4 separate regions of the Homo sapiens genome follow, and all the other regions are linked to region 2. The links are contacts of gene promoters, found by promoter capture Hi-C in blood cells and fetal thymus (Javierre and others, 2016). All regions are on one chromosome and are shown on one strand. Each heading gives the region's core, a stretch centred on a gene start or on the middle of the fragment in contact. The rest is flanking DNA. Distances are from core to core; before and after follow the strand shown.

What was found. Contacts are between HindIII fragments. The CHiCAGO score rates a contact against its expected background, and 5 or more counts as called.
Region 1: a contact is called between a fragment that was not itself captured here and the fragment with the promoter of EID2 in region 2, in 2 of 17 cell types (monocytes and naive B cells). The highest score is 6.4, in monocytes.
Region 3: a contact is called between a fragment that was not itself captured here and the fragment with the promoter of EID2 in region 2, in 3 of 17 cell types (naive CD4 T cells, activated CD4 T cells and non-activated CD4 T cells). The highest score is 6.5, in naive CD4 T cells.
Region 4: the fragment with the promoter of LRFN1 here is called in contact with the fragment with the promoter of EID2 in region 2 in 1 of 17 cell types (naive B cells); the score reaches 5.1 in naive B cells.

What each region holds. Positions count from the first base shown.
Region 1 is chr19:39,347,368-39,350,681 of GRCh38, reverse strand. All of the region lies in intron 1 of SAMD4B (sterile alpha motif domain containing 4B), which reads right to left. Among named protein-coding and RNA genes, the nearest start is that of SAMD4B, 6.6 kb to the right of the region's middle. The HindIII fragment of the contact is 3,053 bases long and covers 428-3,314 here.
Region 2 is chr19:39,538,758-39,541,973 of GRCh38, reverse strand. EID2 (EP300 interacting inhibitor of differentiation 2) reads left to right here and starts at 1,813. Exons shown (of 1, transcript NM_153232.4): 1 at 1,813-3,216. The coding sequence starts at 1,895. The coding sequence ends at 2,605. RefSeq lists an enhancer at 1,558-2,057 and a silencer at 2,029-2,108. The HindIII fragment of the contact is 1,343 bases long and covers 1,400-2,742 here.
Region 3 is chr19:39,677,774-39,681,121 of GRCh38, reverse strand. It overlaps the pseudogene LGALS17A. Among named protein-coding and RNA genes, the nearest start is that of LGALS16, 24 kb to the right of the region's middle. RefSeq lists an enhancer at 2,899-3,193. The HindIII fragment of the contact is 6,903 bases long and covers 1-3,348 here.
Region 4 is chr19:39,319,322-39,322,573 of GRCh38, reverse strand. LRFN1 (leucine rich repeat and fibronectin type III domain containing 1) reads left to right here and starts at 1,711. Exons shown (of 5, transcript NM_020862.2): 1 at 1,711-1,781. RefSeq lists a silencer at 1,863-2,122. The HindIII fragment of the contact is 24,527 bases long and covers 1-3,252 here.

The sequences.
Region 1 (3,314 bases), core at 705-3,204, 190 kb after region 2:
CCCTGTCTCTACTAAAAATACAAAAAATCAGCTGGGCGTGGTGGCAGGCGCCTGTAATCCCAGCTACTCAGGAGGCTGAGGCAGCAGAATCGCTTCAACCTGGGAGGTGGAGGTTGCAGTGAGCTGAGATTGCGCCACTGCACTCCAGCCTGGGGGACTGGAGACTTTGTCTCAAAACAAAAACAAAAACAAAAACAAAAAAATGCTGAGATGTTCCAGGACAAACTGCCCTCTGGGCTTCTTCTCTGGCCCCAAACAGTGAGAAAAGGCCCATATGCCCATAAACAGTGCCTCTGGAGTCCAGCTCTCTTCATTCAGAAGCAGGATGGTGGAGTTAGTCAGACCTGGCTTAAATCCTGGCTCTCCTGTTATACTTACTTGCTGTATTGACTATGACAAGTAACTCTGTTTCTTCCTCAATGAAGCTTGTTAGAAGAATTAAATGAAACAATGTATTTAAAAATACCGCGCATGATGCTTTTTTCCTCCTCTATACTTCATTTCAATAGCAAGCATGATGCTTAGCATGTCTTCATACATCATACATTGTCAGGCCCTTTGCCAACAGCTTTCCACAGATAAGCACATTTGATCCCCAAAACTCTATTTCAAAAATATATAACATACATATATGAATATATTATCATTTTACAGATGGAGCAACTGAGGCACAGAGAAGTTAAGTCACTTTGCCCAAGACTGTACACCAAGCTGAGATTTTCAAGGCCAGGCAGTCTGGCTTCAGAGCTCTTGCTTGCTCTTAACAATGCAAGAAAGCTGGGCATGGTGGCTCACATCTGTAATCCCAGCACTTCGGGAGACTGAGGTGGGCAGATCGCTTGAGCCCAGGAGTTTGAGACCAGCCTGGGCAACAAGGTGAAAGTTGGGCCTAAGGGCCCTTTAATACCAACATCTCTGGATGAATAAGGGGATCCTATCTGCCTTCTTACCCATTCCTAGTTCTTTTTACAGCACGACCTAGGCCTTTGAGAACTTACACTTCATGAACAAGGTAACAGGCTAGTTACCTAGGGTTAACTCACTTTCATAACCTGAGAAGAGACTGTCAGAAGCCAAGGGAGCACAACTTCTCTTATAAGAATCAACCATTATTTCCAGAAACTCCTGAAATACGTACACAAAACATGTACACCACTGCATTAGCAAAGAATGAGCTTTTTGTATGAATGGTGCTGGGGAAGGGAGGGAGAGGAGAGGAGAAGCCAGGCAGGGCCTCCTGGAAGATAAGTACAGTATGGGGAGCTCCGGTAAACTCTGGAATAGAGAGGAAGCTAGCATTCTTCCTCCCACTCCTAAATGTCTTGACACCCCTTCCCCCCGAAAAGTTTATTCTCTGCTTCCTTTCCCTTCTTTACACTTGTTTTCTCTCACTTAGGCATGTAATTAACTCCTGTAGATTCAATCATCACCTCTCTGTGGACAACTGAGACATTTTTTTGAGTCATCTTTGACTTCTTCCATTTCCCAAAGACCCAGTCATTAGGTCTTGATATTTCTTTTTTCTTAATGTCAGCTACACATGCCTTGCTTATCTTTCCCCAAACCTAAGTGGCTCTAGAACCAGACTGCCGGGTTGGAAATATAAGCCTGCCACTTACTACCTGTGTAATTTTGGGCAAGTGATTTCACCTTGCCATGCCTGTTTTGTCATCTGTAATGTGGGTGTAATAATAGTACCTACTGAGAAGGAAGACAGAAAATAATAATAGTGCCTACTCTCATAGAGTTGTGAGGCATAAATGACTTGGCTATTATCATTATTCTAGATTCCTCTCTTTCTCTAATCCCATCATCAAGTCCTGTTTTCTGTACACCCAAAATATATCTGCTTCTCTACATCTTCACTACCACCACCACCACCACATTCATGTCACCATTTCTCATCTGGACAAATGGATTGTCTCCTAACTTTCCTTCCTGATTCTGTCCTGACCCTCTGTTTTCCTCCCAGAAACCAAAGTGAGCTTTCTAAAAAAATTAATCAGATCATGTCGCTGTCTTGCTTTTAAAAACTCCCTTCTAATAGTTTCCCAATCCCCTTAAATGAAAATAGAAACTCCTTACTGTGGCCCTTAGGCTGCAAGTAATCTGGCTTCTGTCAGCCTTTCCAACCCTCACCCCTCTCCCTCACTTAGGCTTTAGCCACACTGGTCCTTGCGATTCCCTGAACATATGGCAGGGCTTTTGCACCTGCTGACCTCTCTGCCTGAAATGCTCTTCCCCGGACCGTCACAAGGTTGGTTCCTTCTCATCAATCAGATCTGGGCTCACCTGTGCCCCATTCTGCCTCATCTGCCCAGTAGGAAGGAGTCTATGATATCATCATCAAGAGATGTTTCTTCAAAGGCTGCAGCTCTTCCAAAAACACCTAGACTGTAAGATCCATGAGAGAAGGGAAGACTGTAGCTATATTATTCATTGCTACATCTCCAATTCCTAGCATAGCACCTGGTACATAGCAGGCCCTCAATAAATATCTGTGATAAATTTCCCCACCTTGCAGAGGTCCTTTTTCTGCATGTAACAATGCTTAGATTAGAATGTTCCACTCCCAGATCTTCCCACAACTGGTGCCTTCTCATCTTTCTGGTTATCAGGCTCAACTGTCACCTCCCAAAAGAGGCCTCTTCTGATCCCCCTGTCTACTACAGTGGCCACTCCCACCCTCTCTTTCACACTGTTTTATTTCCTTCACAGCATGAATCACACTCTGATTTTTTTGTTTCCTCCCCCCATCAGAATATAAATTCCATGAATTTCAGGACCTTGAATGTTTTATTCACTGCTCTGTCTCCAGTACCTAGAATAGTGCCTCCATGCATTAATGAATGAGTGCAGGCTGGAGATATTTGAGACTTGCATACTCCATACACTGCTGTTCTGTAACTTGCCCTGAACCCGCTTCTATTCAACAAGTTTACACTAAAACAAACAAAACAAAACTCCACTCACAGCAATCCTACTTAACTCTCTTCCAAAGTTCTGTGTCTTGGAAACCTTAAACTGTGGTGAGGGTATTGCCATTACTCCTGGATTCTGCTCCCCTGAGGCCACCATCAAGCCAGGCTGATCACCTCATATCACCCGTGATATCCCAAAGCAAAGTGTGGTTGAGTCAGACCAGCCACAAGCTCTCTCTAGACCCAAACAATCACAGAGCAGAGAATGACTGCGGCTGGGGGACAGTGGGGAGGGAGATTGCCATCACTGCTCAGAAAGTTCATCGGATGGAATCACAGGCCTATTTGGCTCAGCAAGCCAGAGACTGAGTTGCAGGGTACAGAACCCAAAAT
Region 2 (3,216 bases), core at 564-3,063:
GCACTTTGGGAGGCCAAAGCCTGGCGGATCATGAGGTCAGGAGTTCGAGACCAGCCTGGCCAATATAATAAAACCCTGTCTCTACTAAAAATACAAAAATTAGCCGGGCATGGTGGCGCGCACCTGTAATCCCAGCTACTCAGGAGGCTGAGGCAGGAGAATCACTGGAACTGGGAGGCAGAGGTTGCAGTGACCCAAGATCACACCACTGTACTTCAGCTTGGGCAACAGAGCGAGACTTCATAAAAAAAATGGTAATGAATATAATAACTATCAAGAAAATAAAGTATTTATAAACCATAATGAAAATGTAGGCTGGAGGCCGAGTGCTCTGGCTCACCCTATAATCCCAGCACTTTGGGAGGCTGAGACAGGCGGGTCGTTTGAGCCCAGGACTTTGAGACCAGCCTGGGCAACATAAGGAGACCCTGTCTCTACAAAAAAATTAAAAATTAACTGGGTGTGGTGGTGTACACCTGTAGTCCCAGGTACTCAGGAGACTGAAGTGGGAGGATTATTTGAGCTCGGAAGGTTGAGGCCACGTTGAGCTGTGATTGTGCCACTGCACTCCAGTCTGGGTAACAGAATGAGATGAAAGAAAGAAGGAATGAAGGAAGGAAGGAAGGAAGGGAGTGAGGGAGGGAGGGAGGAAGAGAAAATGTGAATGGATGAATCTCATAAAAATAATGCACAAAAAAACAGATACAAGTGTGTATGTGAGAAAACATTTTAAATGGTCCATTTCTGAGGCATGATAAATCTAAGTACTGGCAGCCAGCCTGCAAATATAACAAACTGCAGGGCTCATCCACCTAGAAGGTCACAATAAGGGAACAGAATGTAGAGGCGGGGTCAGCCCATAAAAGGGAAGAAAGTGGCCGGCGCAGTGGCTCACGCCTGTAATCCCAGCACTTTGGGAGGCCGAGGCAGGCGGATCACGAGGTCAAGAGATCGAGACCATCCTGGCCAACATGGTGAAACCTCGTCTCTACTAAAAATACAAAAATTACGCAGGTGAGTGTGTTTCTCACATAGATAAAGTTCAGAATACAAACCAAACTAAACTACAGCATTAGGAATGCACCCTTAGGTGGTAAAATGAAAAGAAAAACAAGAAAGTGATTACCATAAGTATCAGCATAGTTGTTACTTCTGCGTAGAAAGGAAAGGATAGTGATAAGAAGAAGAGGAAGGGTTCTGGGATGCTGGAAATATTCCACTTCTTGGACTGTGTGGTAGTTAAACGGATGTTCACTTTGTGATAAATCATTCAGCTGTATATTTATGTTTTGTTTACTTTTCTGCATGTTATATTGCACAAATAAGATTCGAAAAACAAATGTCCAAGGTAGTCAATGCAATGTTAAAGATAACACGAAAAGACTGTAATTACAAAGCTTTGGTAGCTAGGACGATCCGTATGGATGAAGACAGGCAAAGGAATGAATGAAAAACAATTTAAAAATCCAGAAAAGACCATGAATCTAAAATATCTTGATATATAATAGAGGTGGCACATAATCACTGGAGAACAAAGAGAAACACCCTAGGACAGAACCTTGAGAACGCCTACAAGAAGCGATCTTGTAAGCGTTCCTCATAAACATCAAACTGGTTGAAATGTCCCCCGCCCTTCGTCGTTGGGATGTTTCAGATGCGTTGGCGCTTCCCGGCCTCGAGGGGGCATCTGGAGAACGGCGGGCGCCGGGAAAGTACGCATGCGCACTGCTCCCAGGGTTTGCGGTAAGAATCTATGCTCTCGCGCCCGGTTACGCACACTGCATTTACAGCGCGCATAGCGCCCACGCACGCGCACTGGGGTGTCCGCCGGGCATCGCTCTGTCCAGTTATTCCAGTTTCTCTGGGAGCAGCCGAGTTGACCCCACGGTCTGAGATGTCCAAGCTGCCCGCAGACAGCAGTGTCCCGCAGACAGGCGCGGCGAATGGTGACAGAGACGTCCCGCAGGCGGAGGTAGGCCGCGGGAGGCGGGAGCCGGCCCCGGCACAGCCTGAGGAGGCCGGGGAAGGCGCGATGGCGGCGGCCAGGGGAGGCCCGGTGCCGGCGGCCAGGGAAGGTCGGATGGCGGCGGCCAGGGCAGCCCCGGCGGCGGCAGCCAGGGGAGCCCCGGTGGCAGCGGCGGCGTTGGCCAGGGCAGCCGCGGCGGGCAGGGAAAGCCCGGCGGCGGCGGCGGCCAGGGAAGCCCGGATGGCGGAGGTCGCCCGCTTGCTGGGGGAGCCAGTGGACGAAGAGGGTCCCGAGGGCAGGCCCAGGTCCAGACACGGGAACGGAGGCCTGGCTGCGTTGCCCTATCTCCGTCTCCGCCACCCACTTAGCGTTTTAGGCATCAATTACCAGCAGTTTCTCCGCCACTATCTGGAAAATTACCCGATTGCTCCCGGCAGAATACAAGAGCTTGAAGAACGCCGCAGGCGATTCGTGGAAGCCTGCAGAGCAAGGGAAGCAGCGTTTGATGCCGAATATCAGCGAAATCCTCACAGGGTGGACCTCGATATTTTAACCTTTACGATAGCTCTGACTGCCTCTGAAGTTATCAACCCTCTGATAGAAGAACTTGGTTGCGATAAGTTTATCAATAGAGAATAGTTATGTGGTGACACTACTTCAAGAGAACCTCTGCATTCCAGTCATACCAATCCTGCAACTTGATTTTCAGAAGTCAAGAGTATATCGCGATAAGACAGTGCACAGGTGGAGGGGAAAAAAAGGGGGAGGGGGAAGCTTATCTTGAAAAAGCATCACAGAAGTAGAAAAAAATGTCGAAAGCATTATAACTGTAACGTTCTTTGAGTTTGTGATTGATCCACATTTTTCCCCCTGCATTATGGAAAATGTCTCTCAGCATTGCTTTATTACAAAGTAAAGGATGGTTTTATAAAATTGAGACTGATGAAACATCAATACTAGAGCCCATGAGGATGAAAGAAATTATCAAATAGTGCTGAACAGAATAAGATGTTAACGCTGAGTTATTAGGACTGGAAGGCTATGAAAAGAACTTGAAATTGTCGGAATATGTGCTCTCTTCATGTCATATTCAATAGAAGTTTCTAGTTTAAGATTGATTTTGTGTTTTCTTAGGCATTTCAAGTGACAAGCAAAGTAAATGTATATATTATGTGATAAATCATGTTTTCAAGAACGTCAAATTTCTGGACTTTTTTCTTTCAATTTTTAATTTTTAAAGTTTTTTTGGT
Region 3 (3,348 bases), core at 425-2,924, 140 kb before region 2:
GCTTTGTAGGGTTTTTCCAGTAATATATGAATTAATATATGTGAAAGTTTTGCCCTAATCTCTGCCATGCATGAAGCCTGTTGGGGGTTACCCATTAGAACAGGGAGGTTGCTTCTGGAACACCGACCTGTGATTATTTTCAACACTGAAGCTGTGAAAACAAGATGTGAGGATGTAAGAGTAGAGAGATTCACTCCAGTGAGAAACAACACTTGTTGAAAGAGAGAGAGAAATGCTAAAAGAACTGGAAACCCCCGTGTGCATCACAATCATCAAGGGCCATGGACGTCCTTTCCAGAAGGGGACACCTTGCTGGCAGCACAGCCCCAGTACCTGCACACATGAAGAGTGTGGGCCAGGGAAGTCATTGGAGGTAATCTAAATATTGTTTGATTTTCATTTCTCTGTTTGGTGTTGGGGTTTGGGGTCTTTTTGATACAGGATCTTACTCTGTTGCCCAGCCTGGATTGCAGTGGCATGGTCACAGCTCACTGTGGCCTCAAACTCCTGGACTCAAGTGATCCGCCTGCCAAAACCTCCTGAGTAGTTGTGAATGAAGGTGCACACCAACATGCTTGGATAATCTTTAAATTCTGGGTACAGACAGGGTCTCACTACGTTGCCCAGGCTGGTCTGAAACTCCTCACCTTAAGCGATCCTTCCACCTTGGCCTCCCAAACCACTGGGATCACAGGCATGAGCCACAAACCCTGGCAAGTTATTGATTAATATGCACTGTAAGCTCTGTATGAACTAAGAATAAACTGATTCCTTCTCTATTTTGGGCGACTCAGTCTCCGAACCCACATCCCCCAAAGGCCTTCCCTAGTGAGCCAGGATCTGCTCACCCTCTTCTCCCACAATGGGATGGACAGGCTGGGAGACAGAGAGACCTGAGGCTGGAGGCAGGAGCAGATGGCCTTTCTGGACAGACCCCACCTGAGGAACCATCGGCCCCATAGTCTGTGTTCCTTTTCCCCACTCTGCTTGGGAGGAGGCACCTGAGGATTCACGCATTCTGCTCAGAGATGACTCCTCCATAACTCATGGCTCACAACAGGCGCACCAGTTCTGCCACCCACACTGTTCACACATGGGACACACACTGACACATGGGAAGTGCCCAGCTGCTTCATCAGAGGCGCTGCTGTGTTGGGAGGAAACTTTACATGCACAGAAGGCCCCTTGCATGCTCCCAGTTCAACACCCAGTCACATCCCAGCACACACTCACCCATAGTCTCACAGAGCCATGCCACTCACTGAGTCTCACACACCTGCTCACTGTGCATATAAAGATGCTCACACACTGGTCCAGCTGTGCTCACACACACACTCACATCACAGTCAAGAAGACAAAACGCAGTTACACCCTTACACTCAGGCACACACCCGCCCACCCTGGTGGGCTGTTCACCTCCCACCTAAAGTCACATCATCTCAGCAGAGGTTACTCTCATCAGACACCACCATGCACTCACAGACGGTTACACTGGTTCAGAGTCCACACCCCACACTCCACCAGCATCTCAGATATCATAGCCGCACGGTTTCTCTTTCACACACCCACAACTCTCAGTAAAGTGTTCACAAGAGAAACTCTCATACTTTCGTCTTGTGAAATCACCCCTGATTCTTTCTTGGTTTATGTGAATTGAGTTTATTAAAGGCTGTGTCTTTTGACTTACTTTTAGTGATGACATTGTTGTCTCCCTCTGTGTAGTTCTTCAGAATAGTATCTGGTCTTCTGTGTGAGTCTCTGATTTGCAGCACTTAAATAGTCCCTCTTGGCCCTGCCCTCTGGCTTTATTTCTTTCTCTGAACCCCTGCCAGGAAGATTTCTCAGCAGCGTGAGTAGGGGTGGCAGAAATAGACTCAGTTTCAGTTTTCAGGCCTGTGACTGTGCTGCAGCAGAAACGACACGGAGGGTCACACCAAGGGGCAGGGAATCGCCAGGGAAGGCACAGATGAGGATGATGGAGTGAGGGTGGGAAGTTGTGCACTTCAGCCTCCATGCTTCTCATGAAGCCATGTCATTGTGTGCCCTGGTCAAAGGGTTTGCCTTGCATCCATCTCTGACCAAGATTGACACTCTGCAAAGTACTGACTGCCTTGTCCACTATTTGAGCCCACAGCTCCTCCTCTATGACATGACTTTTCCCATTCTAAGTCAGAAAGGAGGATGGTAGAAGGGCATGGTCATCTATGAGCACTCTTTAAATCAACAAATTAGCCTTTGCTAAGTCTGGGTCTCAACATTTCCAGAAATGGGATGGTTCATCCCCCATTCCTGAACTGAGGGCAGAGAGCATATGAATTTCCCTCTTCTTTTTCCTGGTCGAGCGGAGGCACCTGTGCACTTTGGAGTCCAAATAGGGGAAGGGAGCCCCCATGAGGTCCCTACTCTGTTTCAGTGTAGAGAGCGCAGTTCCCACTCAGCCCTGCTCAGCTCAGACACAGCCCCTTCCACGCTGCTACTCACTCAGTTATTCACGCCCGAAATCCCGTCTCAGTCCAGAAATCTCTATGCTGTCCACTATCCTCCTCTTTTCCTCACACACTTTCTCACACCTATAGAAAGTTCTCCTAGTCTCTATAGGTTTCTACTTTCCTAAAGCAACCAGGGACACAGAGATTCTTATTTCCTGCCAGTTCACCTAGGGCAGGCAAGACACTCTGTATCTACTCTCAGTGTCTTCATAGCTGTTTCCTCAAGCAGCAAATATTGTTCCTGTGATTTGTGTCTGAAATACTAACTAGAGAGTATGCATCAGACTCAAGCAGTGAATTACAAAATCAGTTTCCTCTCCACGTGGGATTTCCTGGAAATCTATTGATGTCTTCATAAGTAGAAGTGAAAGGGGAATCAAATCCTGTTTTTAAGTCGGTTCCAAGTTCAGCTGGAATTATGTGAAAGTGAAAGCACTGGAAGCACCTGGCACTGCCCAGTTGGCCCCACATCCATCCTCTGCTTATTTGCTCAGTGTCAGGTTGCAGAAGTGGAATGGACACACTCAGCAAATGGCAGAATCCCACATTGGTTGTCTGACCTGTGCAGGGAGGAATGTGATAGTAGGAAAGGGCAATGGAAGCCATTAGAGCTGCTTCCACCTACAAAAATAGGAAAGCAAAAGCAACACCGCATTCTTGGAGGGCCTGCACAGAGTAGTACAGTCATGAGGGACTTTAAGATACAAGGGTGGCGTTTTTTAGATGGAGTCTTGCTCTGTTGCCCAGGCTGGAGTGCAGTGGTGTGATCTCGGCTCACTGCAAGCTCTGCCTCCTGGGTTCACGCCATTCTCCTGCCTCAGCCTCCCGAGTAGCTGGGACTACAGGCACCCGCCACCAT
Region 4 (3,252 bases), core at 462-2,961, 220 kb after region 2:
CCAGCTACTCGGAAGGCTGAGGCAGGAGAATTGCTTGAACCCGGGAAGCAGAGGTTGCGGTGAGCGGAGACCATGCCAGTGCACTCCAGCCTGGGCAACAGAGCAAGACTCTGTCTCAAAAAAAAAAAAAAAAAGAAAAGAAAAAAGAAAAAGAAAAGAAAAATTAGCCGGGCGTGGTGGCGCACACCTGTAATCCCAGCTACTAGGGAGGCTGAGGCAGGAGAATTGCTTGAACCTGGGAGGTGGAGGTTGCAGTGAGCCGAGATCGTGCCACTCTACTCCAGCCTGGGTGACAGAGTGAGACTTTGTCTAAAAAAAAAAAAAAATTAGGAAAGGGGTTTAGAGGAGGACCTCTGTACAGTGGGATCCAAAACGAGAAGGGTTTGAGACCCCAGGAATCTGGGGCACTGCATGAAACAACACAGATTTTTAGGGGAGAAGTTGCTGGGTTTAGGGACCCTGTGAATATCTCAGAAAGAGAAGGAGAGTGGCCTGAGATACTCAGTGGGGTTTGAGGGAAGGGGTGGGGTTCAGCTATGGGACAGGGGATGGGCAAAGGGGTCTGAACTAGGAAGGAGCAAGGCATTCTGGGCTCTATGGAAGTCACAGGGAGGGGGGACTTTCAGGGTCCAAGAGAAAGAACTGGAGCAAGAAGGAGGCAGGGTCCTCAAGGGGGCAGGACTAGTAGGGGGTGGGAAAAAATTGGGGCTAATTGGGGAGTTTTGGAAACCAAAGGATGTCTTGGAGGAGAAGGAGAGAGAAAGGTGTAAGGTCAAAGGGGTGGAAGATGGTTTGGGGTCTAATGGGGTTCATGGGGAAAGTTTAAGGGTCTTCCATAGGGATAAGAGACATTTTAGGGCCCCCTAGAAGTTAGGCATGGTTTGGAGTTCATACTGGGGGTAAGGGAATGGGTTAGGGTCCTTGAGGGTAGAAGGACATGGCTGGGGGTCCCCAAGAAGGAGTGGAATATGATTTGTGGTTCTGGTGGCTGTAGAATGTGGTTTGGGTCCCCAAAGGGAGTCAGGCACCATCTGGGATTTGGCTGACATATGGTCTGAAGTCTCCCCCGATGTTAGGGTATGATTTGGGGTCCGTGAGGGAAGGGGTGTGGTCTGGGGGTCTATCTGAATGTTGGGATATGATTTAGGGTTGCTGGTGGGGTGGTCTGGATCCCCTTGGATGCTGGGATATGATCTGGGATTCTTCTGGGTTTGGGGGCATGGTCTGGGGTTCCTGACAGTGTGTGGGTCATAGTCTGAGGTCAAGCAGGAGAGCAGGGCATGATTTGTGGTCCTGGGTGGCCCTAGAACATCGCCTGGGTTCTCAAAAGAGGTGAGGCCTGATCCGAGGTCCCCCTGGGTATTAGGACGTGATGGGAGGTCTCTGTAGGGAGATCCGGGGTCCCTAGGCCAGTTGGGGCGTGGTCTGGGGGGGTCTCCGGGGAGGCCGGCGGGGCTGGGGGTGGGGCTGGGGAAGGGTCGGGGGCGGGCCCGCGGCGGCTCGGCAGTGGAGAGGGGTCTGCGGCGGGTTCGGGGCGGGGATCCCGGGTGTGCGACCGCCCCGCCCGGCCGCCCCCACCAGTCGGCGCCCCCTCCCCCCTTGCGGCGGCGGTGGCGGCGGGCGGCGCGGAGGGCGGAGCTCGGCTGCGGCTCGGGAGGGAGGGCGGGAGGCGGGAGGGAGGCGGCCCCGCGGCACCGCGCCCCCTCCCCCGGCCCTCCCCCCACCATGGCGCGGAGCGAGGCAGCGGCGGCGGGGCCGGGCCCGGGGCCCCCCCGGGCTGGGTGAGCGCGGCCTGCAGCGGCCCGGGAGCGGCGGGCGGGGGCGCGGGTGTGTGCGCGGGTGTGAGCGTGCGAGCGTGCGAGTGTGTGTCCGTGGCGCTGCGGCGGGCCCGGCGTGCGCCCGCGCGGCCCTATGTGTGCCCGGTGCCGGCGTGTGCGGCGCCCTGCCCGTGTGGCCATCGGGTGTGCGCGGGGTGTCGAGCCCGGCCGGCGTGTCCGGCTGTGCACGCGTGTCCCCCCGAGCGGCCGCCCCTCCGGCTGTGTGTCTGGGCGCTGTCGCGCGCCCATCGGAGGGGCTGTGTGCAGGTGTGTGTGTGCGTGGGTTGTGTGCCCAGGTGTGGGTCCCCCCCAAGCCCATGTGCGTGCGCGACTAGCTGCTCTGGGTGTTTGTGTCCGGGTTGGATGTCCATCCCCGGGTCTGTGGAGCCGGGTGTGCCCGCTCGGGTGTCCATTTGTGTGTGTGTGTGTGTGTGTGTGTGTGTGTGTGTGTCTGCGGGTTGTATGTCTCCGAGGGTGTGTATCTGTGAGTCCACGGCAGGTTGCTGGCTTGGGGGCTGAGGCTCGGCGCCCAGGCCTCGGTGTGGATTTGGGGGAGGGGAGTTCGCCGCTCCCTCGGTCCATGTCAACTGGGGGGTCCTTAGCGGTCCTGGGGGAAGCGGCCATGTCTTCCCCTTCCCGGTGGTTGCGGGGGGGGGATGGGCGGCCAGGAGGTGGACAGATGGAGGGGGGATGAGAGGCCGAGAAATGGACAGATGGGCCCTGAGGTGGGGGTTGGGGGGCGAAGACCCGGCCCTTCCCCACCCACTCCACCCTAATTCCCCCACCGGCCAGACATCTGCAGACGGAGCCAGAGTTACCTCCATCCTGATGGCCAGGCTGGGGAACCTTTGGGGCTGCTGGTGGGAGGATCTCCTTGAAACGGTGATCTAGGACTCAAACCCCCAAATCCTCTTGAGTTTCCACCTGCTGAACTCTGACCTCTGGCCTGGCTTTTGCCCTGGTTTTTTGGGGGTGTGGAGGGCAGGATGCTGAATGTGCTGCAGGGATGTTAGGATTTCTTGGGCCTGGGAAGTAAGTAGGTGGGGTGGTGGGGGGGTGCCTCAGGGCTGGGAGGAATGTGTGTCCAAGACTGTGTGAGTGTGAATCTGGGCCTGTCTACTGACTGTGCTACTGTGGTTCAGTATTTTCTATGCATTTGGAAGTGTGTAAATCACAGGACTGTTGTGTGAGCATGTGTCTGTTATGAGTGAACATCTTGGCGTGTCTGCAAAGGTGGATCTTTTTGTGCCTGTGTGCGTGTTCCAGTGTGGATCAGCCTCGTATCTGTATGCTTGTGGTTTTGTGTGTGTGTGTGTGTGTGTGAGGTATGTATCTGTTAGCGTGGTGCTGTATCAACTTTGCAACATGGAGATGTGTGAAGTATGAGTGTGTCTAGGCATTTAAGAGTGTGCACTTGTGTATGTTTGCACAGGTG